2 separate regions of the Homo sapiens genome follow, and region 1 is linked to region 2. The links are contacts of gene promoters, found by promoter capture Hi-C in blood cells and fetal thymus (Javierre and others, 2016). All regions are on one chromosome and are shown on one strand. Each heading gives the region's core, a stretch centred on a gene start or on the middle of the fragment in contact. The rest is flanking DNA. Distances are from core to core; before and after follow the strand shown. Region 1 holds the start of ZNF398 (zinc finger protein 398). Region 2 holds the start of ZNF746 (zinc finger protein 746).

Evidence for each region. The method cuts DNA at HindIII sites, captures the fragments that hold promoters and counts their contacts. A CHiCAGO score of 5 or more calls a contact.
Region 1: a contact is called between a fragment that was not itself captured here and the fragment with the promoter of ZNF746 in region 2, in 10 of 17 cell types (neutrophils, fetal thymus, total B cells and 7 more). The highest score is 10.8, in neutrophils.

Annotation. Positions count from the first base shown.
Region 1 is chr7:149,143,397-149,150,009 of GRCh38, forward strand. ZNF398 (zinc finger protein 398) reads left to right here and starts at 4,057. Exons shown (of 6, transcript NM_170686.3): 1 at 4,057-4,370. The coding sequence starts at 4,347. It overlaps LOC107986856 (a long non-coding RNA gene), which reads right to left and starts at 3,965. Exons shown (of 2, transcript XR_007060581.1): 1 at 3,587-3,965; 2 at 1-2,956. RefSeq lists enhancers at 1,687-2,260, 2,261-2,834, 2,835-3,408, 3,502-3,551, 3,983-4,556 and silencers at 3,862-4,501, 4,166-4,337, 4,632-4,781, 4,922-4,971. The HindIII fragment of the contact is 4,715 bases long and covers 629-5,343 here.
Region 2 is chr7:149,495,964-149,503,320 of GRCh38, forward strand. It overlaps ZNF746 (zinc finger protein 746), which reads right to left and starts at 1,846. Exons shown (of 7, transcript NM_001394198.1): 1 at 1,550-1,846. The coding sequence starts at 1,573. RefSeq lists an enhancer at 164-1,107 and silencers at 1,241-1,300, 1,541-2,210. The HindIII fragment of the contact is 2,699 bases long and covers 817-3,515 here.

The sequences.
Region 1 (6,613 bases), core at 1,736-4,235, 350 kb before region 2:
TTTTACATCATACATGCTGAAAAAAATCTGTCCTTGATTCTGTGCAAAGGAAGATGCTGAAATTGGTGTGCATATGCAGGGAAAGTCAAGATGCAGATGGAAACTGGGATTATTTTGTTAACTCAAAAACCAATTGGCAGGGTGCGGTGGCTCACGCCTGTAATCCCAGCACTCTGGGAGGCCGAGGTGGGCAGATCACCTGAGGTCAGTAGTTCGAGACCAGCCTGGCCAACATGGTGATACCTCGTCTCTACTTAAAATACAAAATTAGCCCCCATGGTGGCGCATGCCTGTAATCCCAGCTACTTGGGAGGCTGAGGCAGGAGAATCACTTGAACCCGGGAGGCAGAGGTTCCAGTGAGCAGAGATTGCGCCATTCCACTCTAGTCTGGGCAACAAGAGTAAAAACTCCATCTCAAAAAACAAACAAACAACCCCCCAAAAAAGCCAATTAAATTGTTTCATAGTCACATTTCTAGATCCAAACTTTTAGGACAATTTTTTTCTCTAGTGATTATGTATAGCAGCAAGAGCAGACAAAAATATTATAAATTAAAAATAAGTTAGTACAACAACCTTACATCTGCTTCTGAAAATATTGTGCATCTTCTTTAAACAGTACACAAAAAGCTTCAGTCAGTGAAATTGCTTAATGAAATGCCAGTACCATCCAAAGAATTTTTAAGGCCAAGAATTAAATAGGAAGAATTTCTTGTCTTAATATATTCCTATTCAAGGAAGGAACATTTAATAAGTTGGTGGTAATATTACCATATTAAAGCAGAGAGGTAGCCTTGCTTTCTATGGAGCTCAGTTGGAAGTCTTATTTAGTAATACAAATGTCCCTGTTAAATGGCCATAGGAGCATCTGACAGAAATTGTTGTTCTTGCCTTATAACATCAAACTTGAAAACTTTACTACTTTTTTTTTGGAGATGGGATGTCAGTCTGTCGCCCAGGCTGGAGTGCAGTGGTATTATTACAGCTCACTGCAGCTTCAACCTCCCTGGCTCAAGTGATCTTACCTCAGCCTCCCGAGTAACTGGGTCGACAGGTGTGCATTACCATTTCAGGCTAATTTTTGTATTTTTTTATGGAGACAGGGTCCCACCAGGTTGCCCTGACTGGCCTTGAATTCTTGGGCTCCAACAATCTACCCACCTCGGCCTCCCACTGTGCTCGGCTACTACATTTTTTTTTTTCTTTTTTGAGATGGAGTTTCACTCTTGTTTCCCAGGCTGGAGTGCAATGGTGCAATCTCCGCTCACTGCAACCTCCTCCTCCTAGGTTCAAGTGATTCTCCTACCTCAGCCTCCTGAGTAGCTAGGATTATAGGCACCCACGACCACGCCCGGCTAGTTTTTCTATTTTTAGTAGAGATGGGGTTTCACCGTGTTGTTCAGGCTGGTCTCCAACTCCTGACCTTAGGCGATCCACCCACCTCGGCCTCCCAAAGTGCTGGGATTATAGGCGTGAGTCACCGTGCCCGGCTTCTCGGCTACTACATTTTAAATAATAAAATTATACAACAGAATTTTCTTTCCAAGAAAATTCAGATTATTATTTTTTTGTAATCTACTCATATTGTGAGTCAGAGAATGGCAATTTTCATTATTAAGCATTCACCATCTGACAAATATGTATATTCAGGTAAATCCCAAATTACGGACTGCATATGTAGCCACAGGCGAAAAGTAACTTAGTCTGCTCAAGAGCAGTTGCCCCAACAGGATAGTTCTCATACTTTTGTGATTTACAGATAGTTATACTGTTATGGGCATTGACTTGATTCATGTGTTGAAATACAGGTTTAGCAGGGTTTGATTCATACATGTTTGAAATGAAGACTTCCTGGAAAACCAGGGTCATGTGCTTATCCTATCACCACACACATGAAACCGCCCCAACAGGGTTCACAAAAATTGCATGCAGGTTCTGGACAGAAATATAGTTATAATTAAGCATTAATCAGGCTGCACTTCGGCCTACTTCCTTGTTGCTAATAGTCACAAGGCACTAGATACTGACATTTGCATCTCTATTGTTCCTATAGATAGGATTTCAGACATCAGACTAAGAATTGATTTGCATCCCTGTTGTTCCTGTAGACAGGATCTCTGACATTAGAATCATAAGGCTTTTGTTTAAGGATCGCTTAAGATGTTTTTCAGACCACGAGTTCCGGTGAAACAGTTGAGTTCAACCAGTTTGAAGACCCCCCACAGAGGAATGGGATGAGCATGAGAATGTAGTTTCTTCATCTCCTTGTACCACGATTTCACCAGCACTCTCCCACCAATCAGTCAACTCCATTACCCTTACAAACTCTAACCCCAAATTCCCAAATTCCTAGCAGAGATGGATGTGAGGCTTCTTCCTGTCTCCTCCTTAGGTGGCCCTATGATTAGACCTCTTTCTCTGCTGCAACCTGGTGTCTCTGCATATAGACTTGCTATGTGCATTGGGCAAGGAACCTACTGCTGTTACACACACTCTGTTGACTTAAAACACAACCTCACCAGAAAACACTTTGTTCTCGCAGGTCCTTTTTTTTTTTTTTTTTTTTTAAGATGGAGTCTAGCTCTGTCGCCCAGGGTGGAGTGCAGTGCTGCCATCTCTGCTCACTGCAACCTCCGCCTCCTGGGTTCCAGCGATTCTCTTGCCTCAGCCTCCGGAGCAGCTGGAATATCAGGTGCACGACACCACGCCCGGCTAATTTTTGTATTTTTTAGTAGAGACGGGGTTTCACCATGTTGGCCAGGCTGGTCTGGAACTCAGGTGATCTGCCCGCCTCGGCCTCCCAAAGTGCTGGAATTACAGGCGTGAGCCACTGCGCTCGGCCTGTTCTCGCAGGTCCTTTTGCTCAGACGCAGCAAACCGTAACCCCAAGCTCGATCTCTGCTGCTCTCAGGAATTCCACTTCCTCCAGCTTGGGCAACATAGCGAGACCCTGTCTCTACAGAAAAATAAATAAGTAAATAAATAAATACAAATAAATAAAACATTAGCCGGGCTTGGTAGCTGCGCCTGTAGTCCAAGATGCTCGGGCAGGCTGAGGGGAAGGATCGTTTGAGCCCAGCAGTTTAAGGCTGCAGTGAGCCTTGTTTGTGCCACTTGCACTCCAGCCTGGACGACAGAGGGAGACTGTCTCTAAATAAATCAATAAATAAGGCCGGGCGCAATGGCTCACGCTTGTAATCCTAGCACTTTGGGAGGCCAAGGCGGGTGGATCATTTGAGGTCAGGAGTTTCAGACCAGCCTGGCCAACATGGTGAAACCCCGTCTCCACTTAAAAAAAAAAAAATTAGCTGGGCATGGTGGTACATGCCTGTAATCCCAGCTACTTGGGAGGCAAAGGCAGGAGAATCGGTTGAACCCGGAAGGCGGTTGCAGTGAGCCGAGATCCCGCCACTGCACTCCAGCCTGGGCGACGGAGTGAGACTCCGTCTCTAAATAAATAAATAAACAAAAATTAAGAATCCTATTTCCAGACCAGGCCCCGGAGAGTCAATAATCCGAGATGTGAAGGAGACCTTAAAATATTATTGATCCCAACACAGGCCGCGTGGGACCTGAACCGCCTCACCTTGGCAACCACATTTGTAATTTCCGCAAATGATCTATATCTTCTTCATTCCAAAATTGTGCCTCTCCGTCACTCATTCCACCCATAGGCTCCCTTCAGCCGTGTCCCCCTTACTCTCACCCTGCACATTTCCGCTGTTCTAAATACGGCTGCCCTTCAGCAGAAGCTGTTGCCTGCAGACGGCGCCTGCGTATCGAGCCTCCGTGAAGAAAATCACTCCCCAGAATGAGCCCGGCTTTGCGGCTGGGTCCTAAACTGCGGTGAGCTGAACCTTCTCGTGGGAATGTGAGAAAGCGGAACACACGTGGGCCCCAAATAACAACCCTCCCCACACCGAAGCCCAAGAGCTGGGGGGGAGGGGCGGAGGCGACGCGGGGGGCGCTGGCCGCAGGGGCCGGCAGGGGGCGCGCTGGCCGCGGTGGCTGGGCAGCGCGAGCCTGCGGCGCGTCTAGGCCCGCGCGGTTCCCGGTGCACTCGCTGCCCACAAAGCGCCAGCTGAGGGGCCGCTGCGGGTGGAGTGCGGCGGAGTCGGCCTCGCGACCCCAGCTTGATCCGCCGCCTGCTGCACCGCGCCTCCGCCGCGTTCCTGCGCGTCCCGAGCCCCGACGGCCGCGTGAGTCCCGTCCGTGCGGGGAAGGCAGGGCCGGGTCGGCGCCGCCTGTGGAGAGGACCCGGCGGCCGGGCCTGCTTGGAGCCGGGCGCGGTGGCAGCGGCGGCAGCGGCGGCGACTTCCGAGGCCCGGGCTAGACAGCGCAGGGCCATGGCTGAGGCGGCCCCGGCCCCGGTAAGGGCGGCCGCGCGCGAGTGTTGTGAGCCCCCGAGACCCAGACCCCGAGGGAGGAAGGCGGGCGGGCAGGGAGCTGCCAGGCATAGGCGCCGTTCTCGGGTCCCGCCGGCCACGTCGCCTGTCGCCCGTGCTTGGCGGCTGCAGCCTCGCGTGAGGGGACTTAGCGGGTGGGTGTGAAACCGCCCACCCGGGGACACCAGGCTGGGCCGCAGGTCTGAGGGGCACTCGCAGGCAGCTATGAGACCCGGGGCCCTGCAGTTGGGTTGAAGTCGAGGGGGTGCCTGCTGCGTGTCAGCCCCACGCCTGCCCGCCAGACGCGCAGCGGGGTTGGGCTGGGGAGCCGTCAGCCATTCTCGCGGCCGCGGGAGCGTTCGTCACCAGCAATCTGAGCGGTGGCGCGGGCGGCATTTAAGTGTGCGGAGGCGCATTCCCGCCGCGCTGCGTGACGCCTGGGCTCCCGGCACCGGACTCGGGACACGCGGGAGGCCCTCCCGAAATAGCTGCCGAATGAATGGTGCGGACCCGGAGGCTGGAGTGGCCTCGCGTGCGTGGCGGTTCATTCGCGGGTGTTTGCCAAGGCCTGCGGGGGCCGGCAGCGGCCAGTTGCCAGGGCGACCGAGGCGACCGGGCCGCGCCTGCACGCAGCCCCGTAGAATGAGAAGGGGACGGTCAGGCCGCGGGGAAAGCACTGATCGCATTTGCCACCCAAGAGGTCTTTGGTCACCTCTAGGAGAGCAATTGTACTGGGTCAGGAGCCACCCTGGCACATGAGGGGTGACTGGGAAAAGGAGGAAGAGCAGCGATGGGTAGGGGGTAGAGCAGAGGGAAGTGCCACCTCCACTCTTGGACCTGTTTTTCTTTTTTCCAACCTTTTTTTTTGTGTATAGGTGGGATGGTAGCGATGATCCTGTGTTGTGCCAGTCCTGGCTAATAGAAATATAAGGGAAGCCGCATACAAAACTCTAAATCAAGCTTGTCCAACCCGCGGCCCCCAGGCCGCATGCGGACTAGGACTGCTTTAAATGCGGCCCAACACAAATTCGTAAACTTTCCTAGAACATCATGAGATTTATGCACGGACCTTTTTCTTTGTCTTTTTTTTTTTTTTTTTTTTTTTTTTTTAGCTCATCAGCTATCATGATCAGTATTTTATGTGTGACCCAAGACAGTTCTTCCAGTGTGGCCCAGGGAAGCCAAAAGATTGGACACCCCTGCTTAAATTCTCTAGGCGTCACGTTTAAAAAGTAAAAAGCCAGGCGCTGTGTTGTGCACGCCTGTAGTCCCAGCTAGGCCGGGGGCTGAGGCGGAAGAATCACTTGAGTCCAGGAGTTCGAGGCAGTCCACACCGCGTCTCTAAAATAAAAAAAATTTTTGAGAAGTTAAAAAATAAATAGATGAAATTAATTTTAATTATATATCTAACTCAATATATGCAAAATATTATTTCAACATGTCATCAATTTATTTATTTATTTATTTTTTGAGGTGGAGTCTCACTCTGTCCCTCAGGCTGGAGTGCAGTGGCGCCATCTGGGCTCACTGCAACTTCTGCCTTGCCGGTTCAAGCGATTCTCCTGCCTCAGCCTCCCGAGTAGCTGGGACTACAGGCGCGTGCCACTACGCCCGGGTCCTTTTGTATTTTTAGTAGAGAGGGGGGTTTCACCGTGTTTGCCGGGATGGTCTCAATCTCCTGACCTCGTGATCCGCCCGCTGGGATCCAAAGTGCTGGGATTACAGGCGTGAGCCACCGCGCCCGGCCTCATGTAATCGATTTAAAACATTAATGGCCGGGTGTGGTGGCTCAAGCCTGTTATCCCAAGCACTTCAGGAGGCTGCCGTGGGAAGACAGCTTTAGCCCAGGAGTTGAAGACCAGCCTGGGCAACATAGGAAGACCCCATCTCTACAAAAAAAATTTTTTTTTTTAAATTAGCCAGGCGTGGTGGCATGCACTTGTACTCCCAGCTACTCAGGAGGTGGGAGGTGTTTGAGCCAGGGAGGTGGAGGCTGCAGTGAGCTGTGATCCTGCCACTGCCCTCCAACCTGGGCAACAAAGTGAAACCCTGTCTCAAGCAAACAAACAAATATTTTTTTCATACTAAGTCTTCAAAGTCTCGTGTATTTTATACTCATAGCACATCTCAATTTAACCACATTTCAGGTGCTCAGTGGCCACATGTAGGTAGTGGCTACTGTATTGAACAGTGCCAGTCCACCCTATGGAGAAGAATCAGGAGACAGA
Region 2 (7,357 bases), core at 596-3,095:
CGTGGTTCTGGGCTTGAGTCCACCCTCCACCTAAGGCCACTGTTCCTTCCCTCACCTCTCCTTTCTCAGATCAATCCCTGTCACGTGATCCCAGACGCCAAGAGTTTACTCCAGAAGCTTCCTTTCAACTGGTCACCAGCTCCTTATCCACTGAAATCCTACCCATCCTCCACGTGCATTATTATGGGCTTTGTGTGGCATGAAAGGGACCTCTGCTAAACTACTTTATTAAGAAAATATTAGTCTTTTACTCATGGACAACAAGGTGCATGGTTTTCTTACAGTTCTGATGGGGCCAGGAAACCCTGTGTAAGGTCTTCACACTATGTGGTGGGAGGTGGCGACTGTGCGCTGCTCACTCCAGCCCAGCTTCTTACTGACAAGTGGCTGGAATATGTGGGGCTGTCCTTGGACTCCTGCCAGGGGAGCTGAAACTCTTTGCTTGAGAGGAGCTGATGGTAAGAGGAGCCGGATCCCTCATCCACTGCCCACCCGCAGGATGAAGTCCAGGCATGCAAACCCCTTCTTAGTCTCTCTCTGCAGACTCCTTTCCCACTGCCTCCAAACCAAAACCATCTTCTCCAGGCTCATGGACTCCTTTCTGTGCCTGCACACGCCCTGCACTGTCCCGTCTCTCTGCGCCTTTGCCCAGGCACTCCTCCCTCCCTGAAAGCACCACCGGTCTAGCTGGGCCTGAAATCCTAGCCTTCCCTAAAAGCCCGGCTCAAATCACAGAGGCGCAGAGCATCAGGCCAGGAGGGGTGGACAGCGGTACCAAGAGGCCCCCTGACACTCCTTCCCCCGGAGCCCACCGCAAGCTTCCACCTGGGCGCCAGCACTCACCCCTTTCTGTTTTGCACGATTATTGCCCGCGTACCTGCCTGCCTGGTCCTTGAACACACAGCCACTGTGTGTCTTTTCACACTTTCCAGCTGGGTAAGCCTGGGCAAGTTAAGTTCTCTAGGCCCCGGGTTTTTCTTTTGTATGACAGAGATTAACACCAGTACCCATCCCACAGGCTTGCTGTGAGGACAGACTAACGCCTCAACAGGGCTTGTGGAAGTGCGTGGCTCTATATTCCCTTCCGCGCCGACCCCGGGAAGCTGGGCACGTAGTGGGAGTCGGTGTATGCGGATTCGAAGCCGGACACCTCCCAGGTGCCACCAGGCCGCTGCGGGGGAGATGGAGAGGGACCTACAGGCCGAGCGCCAGGCAGAGAAAGGAGCCGCGGGTGGGGGGGCACCCAGAAGGAGGGGACAGCGGCTGGGGCGGGGGCAGGAAGCCCCGGAGGGCCCAAAGAACTTGGCGTGGGGCGGCCCGGGGCGGGGACAACCGTTCCGCCAGCGCTCGGGTTCGGCTCGGAGTGGGGGCCCGGCCGACGGGCGCAGTAGGCCCCGGCGGACCCCGCGCCCCATTCGCGGGAGCCCCAGGCCCGGTGGTCCGGCCCGGACCCCGGAACCCCTCCCCAGGGCCTGCGGCGCCGTGTGCCGGGGCCGGGCCGCCTGGGGCCCCCAGGCCGCGAGTCCCTGCGCGCGCGGGTCGCCCTTACCGGAGCCGCGACCGCCTCGGCCATGGCCCTGCGCTGTCCCGCCCGGCCCGGAGGAAGTCGTCGTCGCCGCCGCCGCGCGCGGCACCACGCAGGCCCGGCCGCCCGGTGCTCTCCGCAGGCGGCGCCTGCCTGGCCTTTCCTCTGCCGCCGCTCCTCGCTGGCTGCCCCTGCGCCGCGCCGCCCGCAGTCGCGCCGCCTCCGTCAGCGCCCGGCCGGTCCACACTGCATCCTGGGAGCCGGCGCCGCGGCCCGGCAGACGAAGGCCCGTGAGGCTTCCTGGAGGCAGCGCGGCCGCACAGCCCCACCTGCAGCCTGAGAGGCGAACGGCAGGCGCTGCGCCCGCCTGCCCGCGGCCCCGCCCCGCCCCGCCCAGCCCCGCCCGCGGGGCCCGACGGGAGGACCTAGCGACCCCGGGCCGACCCCGCGACCCCGCGACCCCGCGACCCCGGCCGGACTGCCGAGCGCGGGGGGAGTCACTGCGCTGGCCCCGCGGCCCAGCCCGAGGACTCGGTTATTGAAAGGGTCCCCCTCATGGGACCCGCCTGGCCGCGCCCGCGGGCGAGCACGGGCTTCCGGGCAGGGCGTCCCCCGGGTGACCGCGGCCAGGGCGGCCCCCTCGCCCTGGGATGCCCGGCTCCCCTTCCCCCGCCCCACGGGCACTTCTGCTGCCCGAGGTCCTGGGTCTGGAGGTTTAGGCTATTTTGGGGAGGACAGATGTAACTCATGCCCACCTGTGTTTGAAATGGAATAAATACTTCCAACAACAGGAATATAGTTCGGTAAACCCCGGTAGGCAACCACTTAGCATTTTCTGTAATGGGTTTATTACAGTAAATTTTTTTAATGGCATGAGCAATGGGACGCAATACCATCATTTAAAATGATTTCGGTGAAGGTCTTGGTAGGAACAGATGTTCATGATGTTTTAAGAGAAAAAGCCTGTCCAGGACGATCCTGTCTTTGTTTTAAAAATAACATTTTAAAACAATATAGGACATATGTAGCGTCATATACTGCGTACATGTATAATTACAGTTTTGAAAAGTTTGGAAGCATATATATCAACATGGCCTCAGTAGTTCTATTAAAGGTCTATTCCTTTAATAGACCACGGGCCGTTTTTATGCCTTTTCTAATTTTTTCCAATTCATGTTTTTATTTTTCCATGACAAGGATAGTATTTTTAAACAAGGAGAGAAAAATAAAAATTTAAATGTTCTCAAAGAGGCCAACCAGAGCAGGGGAAGGAGGGCGCCTTGGACGGGCCCCCACGTAGTTTCAGAGGCTCATTGCCTTTCAGGAACACGACTTGCTCATCTGTGTATTCCCCAAGACTAACTAGCCAACTGCCTAGCACACACTGATAAGAAAATATGTGAGAGATCTGTAATCTTTTTCAAAGAAGGCAGACCTTACAGAATAGATAAAATTTGAGCTGGATCTTGAAGAATTGGCAAAATATTGATAGGCAGAGAGCATTTCAGACCAGAGGGTGGTAGTAGAGGTGTGAGCTGGATGACAGCCCAAAAAAAAATTGATGTAGGAAGATATAAAGCATTTTAGGGCCGGGCGCAGTGGCTCACGCCCGTAATTCTAACACTTTGGGAGGCCAAGATGGGTGGATTGCCTGAGCTCAGGAGTTTGATACCAGCCTGAGCAACATGACAAAACCCCGTCTCTACTAAAAATAGAAAAAATTAGCGAGGCGTGGTGGCACGCACCTGTAATCCCAACTACTGGGGAGGCTGAGGTACGAGAATCGCTTGAACCCGGGAGGCAGAGGTTGCAGTGAGTGGAGATCACACCACTGGGTGACAGAAATACAGTGCATTAGAAATAAAGAGACATTTTTAGTGTGCAATTTAAAAAGTTCCCTTTTGACAGGCTGAGTCGGATATGCCAGGGTCATCTCTAGGTAGTAATTTCCAAGCCTGGCTCTCAGAGCAGCTGCATCAGTCTCTGGGGAAGCTTGTGAAGGATATGGATTTCTGGATCCCATCTCATATCTACTGAATCAAAATGTCTTTGGGATGGGTCCTGAGTAATGTGGAGAAAACTTATTTTAAAAGAAGGTCTCTTTTTAACAAGTTCCTTGTAGGGGTTGAGGTAAGGGTGAAGCTGGGGCTCTGCAGACAGCCAAGTTAGGGTAATGATGACTTGCTCTGTCCTCCACTGAAGACAGGCATCTATTGCAGAGCATCTCTGGTGCTGGTTTTCCAGCCTCTATTTGTAAAAAGAACGAAGATAAACCTCCTTGGATTGATATATGAGGCTTCCAAAGCCTTTCCCTCCATTTTGGGCACAGGTGTCAAAAGCAGGCATGAGAGTTTCCACTCCTGTGCCTTTCCTCATGCTTTTCCCCTCTCCTCTTGCCCACCCGAAGTTCTCACACCTTTTCCAGACCAGCATATGCCCTAATTCTTCCAGTTAAGTCTCTCCATGCCAATCACGGCTGCAGCAAGCTCTGCATTGTCCCAACTCTAATAATTTTTATTCTCGGTGCCATTCATATGGCACTGAGAAAAAAATTACAATACAAGGTAGTAGTTCCTAACTCACCTCTTGGATTATAAGTTCCCTGAGAGCAGGGACTATATCTTATTTCTCTTGTCTCTCCTGCAGTGCCTAATACTGGGCAGGTTTAGGCAACATAAAGTAATGATTTAGTACAAGTCTTAATTGATTGCTCTGTGTGGTGTGATCAACTGTGGTCCAAAGAATCATCCCCTCCTCTGCTCTAATACTTCTGCAGCCCCTACCATCTCCACCTTCCTGCTGAGTATTCCTAGAAGAAAAATCATAAAGCATTTTCAACACACCCAGAAGGAGCCTGGAAGGGCTAGAGAACATGAGACCACATGTCAACTCAAGGTGTCAGGGAGGCAGGAAGTGTGTGGTTCATACTGCACATAGACTGTGTAGATGTAGGGACTATGGACCCATGCACCCCTATGAGTGCTTCCTATACTCCAGCAGGTACAGCAGAACAGGTGGACCTCTATTTTTCCAGCTGCTCCCTTAGGCCTGAGCTTTTCCCCTGGGACCAGGCACACAGCCTAAAAGTTCAGGCTTGGGGTTTTCAAAAAGACTGTGGTAATCATTGCTGCCCACTAAATATTTCCAGCTGGTTTCTCTTGAAGACCATGGCTGGATGGCACTTCCTGGTTTCTTCTGGCTGGGTTGGACCATGTGACAAGTTCTGGCTGATGTTTTTTCTTTCCCTCTACTATGGTAACCCAGCAATATTTGAGGAGGTGGGTGCTGTATTTGCCTGCATCCTGGAGGTGGGGGACATTGAGTAGACTCCCCAGCCATCCCATGATGAGCTACTTACAGCATGAACATGAAACTTTTTGTTGTAACATGGTTTGGGGGTTGCTTGTTCCACAGTTTAACCTAGCCTATCCTGACAGATACAAAGGCATGGTGAAAGTTGGCCAGGCATTGCAGCAGGCATCCTTGGGCTCCAGGTGGTGTCTGCTCGAGCTTAACTTCCCTTACATTGTCTGAGTGCTCTCACATTGAGCGTTACCCTGCAGCGGTTAGATGTGGTGAAGTGCTGGAGAACTTGCAGCTGGCCCTGGAGTCTCTCCCATGGAGCCAGTGCCAAGTTCCTGCCTCAAATCCCTCAGTGAAATTTGCAGATGCGGATGGTCAGGGCCATGGCTCTGAGAAGCTACCTCCTTTCCTTCTGCTGGGAGCTGGGAGACTCACAGTCCTCTGGGGTTGGCTGGCTGGAGGCCAGTGCCTCAAAAATATTCTATACCAGAGCCCTTGAGTACAGAGAAAAGTGAATGTATGTCCTGTGGGTCTGGACGCTGCCTGAAATGGCCCTTGGTGAGCCAGAAGGTGTGATAAATTGTCATACTTTAACAATCCATTAAATCTTGTCTCCTTTATAAAACTTCTGTGCTTGTTTTAATTTTAAAAGATTATTTTGATTTATTGACCAGAGTAAAAAATTTATTTGATGTTTCAAAACCCCTCTCTTGCTCCTGAAATGGGAACAATTCCCTCATCCGCCTCTCAGGGTGTGAGATGGGGGCTGCAGCTCACTTTGTCAGTGCCCCGCTGCTCAAACCTCTAGCGGGAGCATGTAGGCAGGCAGGCTGTGGGGCTTATCACAAGGACAGAGGGCTTTCTGTATCCTGGGGTTCTTGCCTTAGTGTGCCAGAAAAATTAGATCACGCGTGGGCTTGGGGGATGGGTGCAAGGCTTTTTATTAAGTGGTGGCAGCTCTCAGTGAGGTGGATGGAGAGGCCAGAAGGAGGATGGAGTGGGAAGGTGGCCTTTCCCTGGAGTCAGGCCACCCAGTGGCCGGGCCCTCCTCCGACTGGCCTCTGCTGAACTCCGTGTCGTCCCGTCATAGATGGCCTGCCGGCGTCTGCTGGTGTCTGCCCGTGTGTTCTTCTGCTGTTGAGTTCCTCTCGATGTCCAGCTGCTCGTGTCCGTGCCCACTAGGGTCTCAGGATGTTTAAAGGCACAGGATGGGGTGTGTGGCAGGCCAGGGTGGTCTTGGAAATGCCACATTTAGCCACAGAAACAGAAATACCTGTCCTCACCTAGGTCAGTGGGCACAGGCCTGAGGGTAGAGCCTTTGCCAGGGACCCTGCCTTTCTCTACCCAGCACTTTCCTGCCTCCCTCCTGTATCACTCCCACATCCCTCCTCACCCTGGACCTCCCTTTCAGGGGGTCCGTGCCTCCGTCTGAGAAGCATAGCTCCAGGCATCTCAGGTGTTGCTGAGTTTCCACCATGATGGCATCACCCTCTGCCAACCTGGAGGTAAGATCCTGATGTGGCATTAGAAAGCCAGGGGCAAGGTGGGCAAGTGGCAGATGTGTGGAGGAAGTTTCAGTGCCCTGGCATCCATGATTGCCTTTCAAGTTTTCTAGAAGCGTCCATAGCCTCAGTTATTCTGATATGGTGATGTTAAAACCTGCCTACACCTAGGGTGTTTATGACTGACAACAGCTTAGAGAGTGACCCGTCCCAGGGCCCTGGCATCTTCTCTGGGGTCAGAACTTTGAGCGACAGGAATGAACAACAGGGCATTCCAGACGCCCTCAGCAGAGTGCAAGTCTCTGCACCTGAGCTCTCCAGGGCAGGAGTGAGGTCACCTTGCGCCAGTGGAGGTGAGGTGGATGGTAAAAGAATATAGGAGGCCCTTCCATATTTGGAGCAAACTCCAAATATGGAAATATGGAAAAATCCAGACATAAGAAACAAGCATCAGAGTTTTGTTTTTAGATTCATTAAAAATTTTTAATAACTAAAGTTATTGAATTCTCCCATAACTAAAATCTCCACAGCTTTTGAAAATAGTGTTCTAGGTACAAAAATTAGATTTCTCAAGGAGTACTTACTGTGCAGAACATGGCCCACCCCAGCAATATTATTAATTATAATAGAAACAAGCTTATTACTCAGGTGCTGACTCATATTTACAAGAGATTTTGAAGTTTTATAGGTCTGACCTTTGAGTTGTCAATTTTTGAGGACCTCACAATAGTCTCTCATGGCTTTCAGAGTGGGGGAAGCCTGTCACATCAAAGCCTAGCCAGATGAAATGAAGAATATTTTATAGGGACACTGAGTCCTTTTGAGCTTGGCTAGGGACAAAACCCACTCAGTAGAAATTAGTCAACAAGTCTATACTGAGTACTTACTGGGTCCTCAGCCAGATTATATATGTGAAACGTATATAATCAAGGTGACAGTATTTTCTAAACAGAAAACTCACGGTTTTTAGTATAACAAAAGATCTTTATGTCATTTATTGGTGCTAAGAGATAGTCTGGGAGATGCA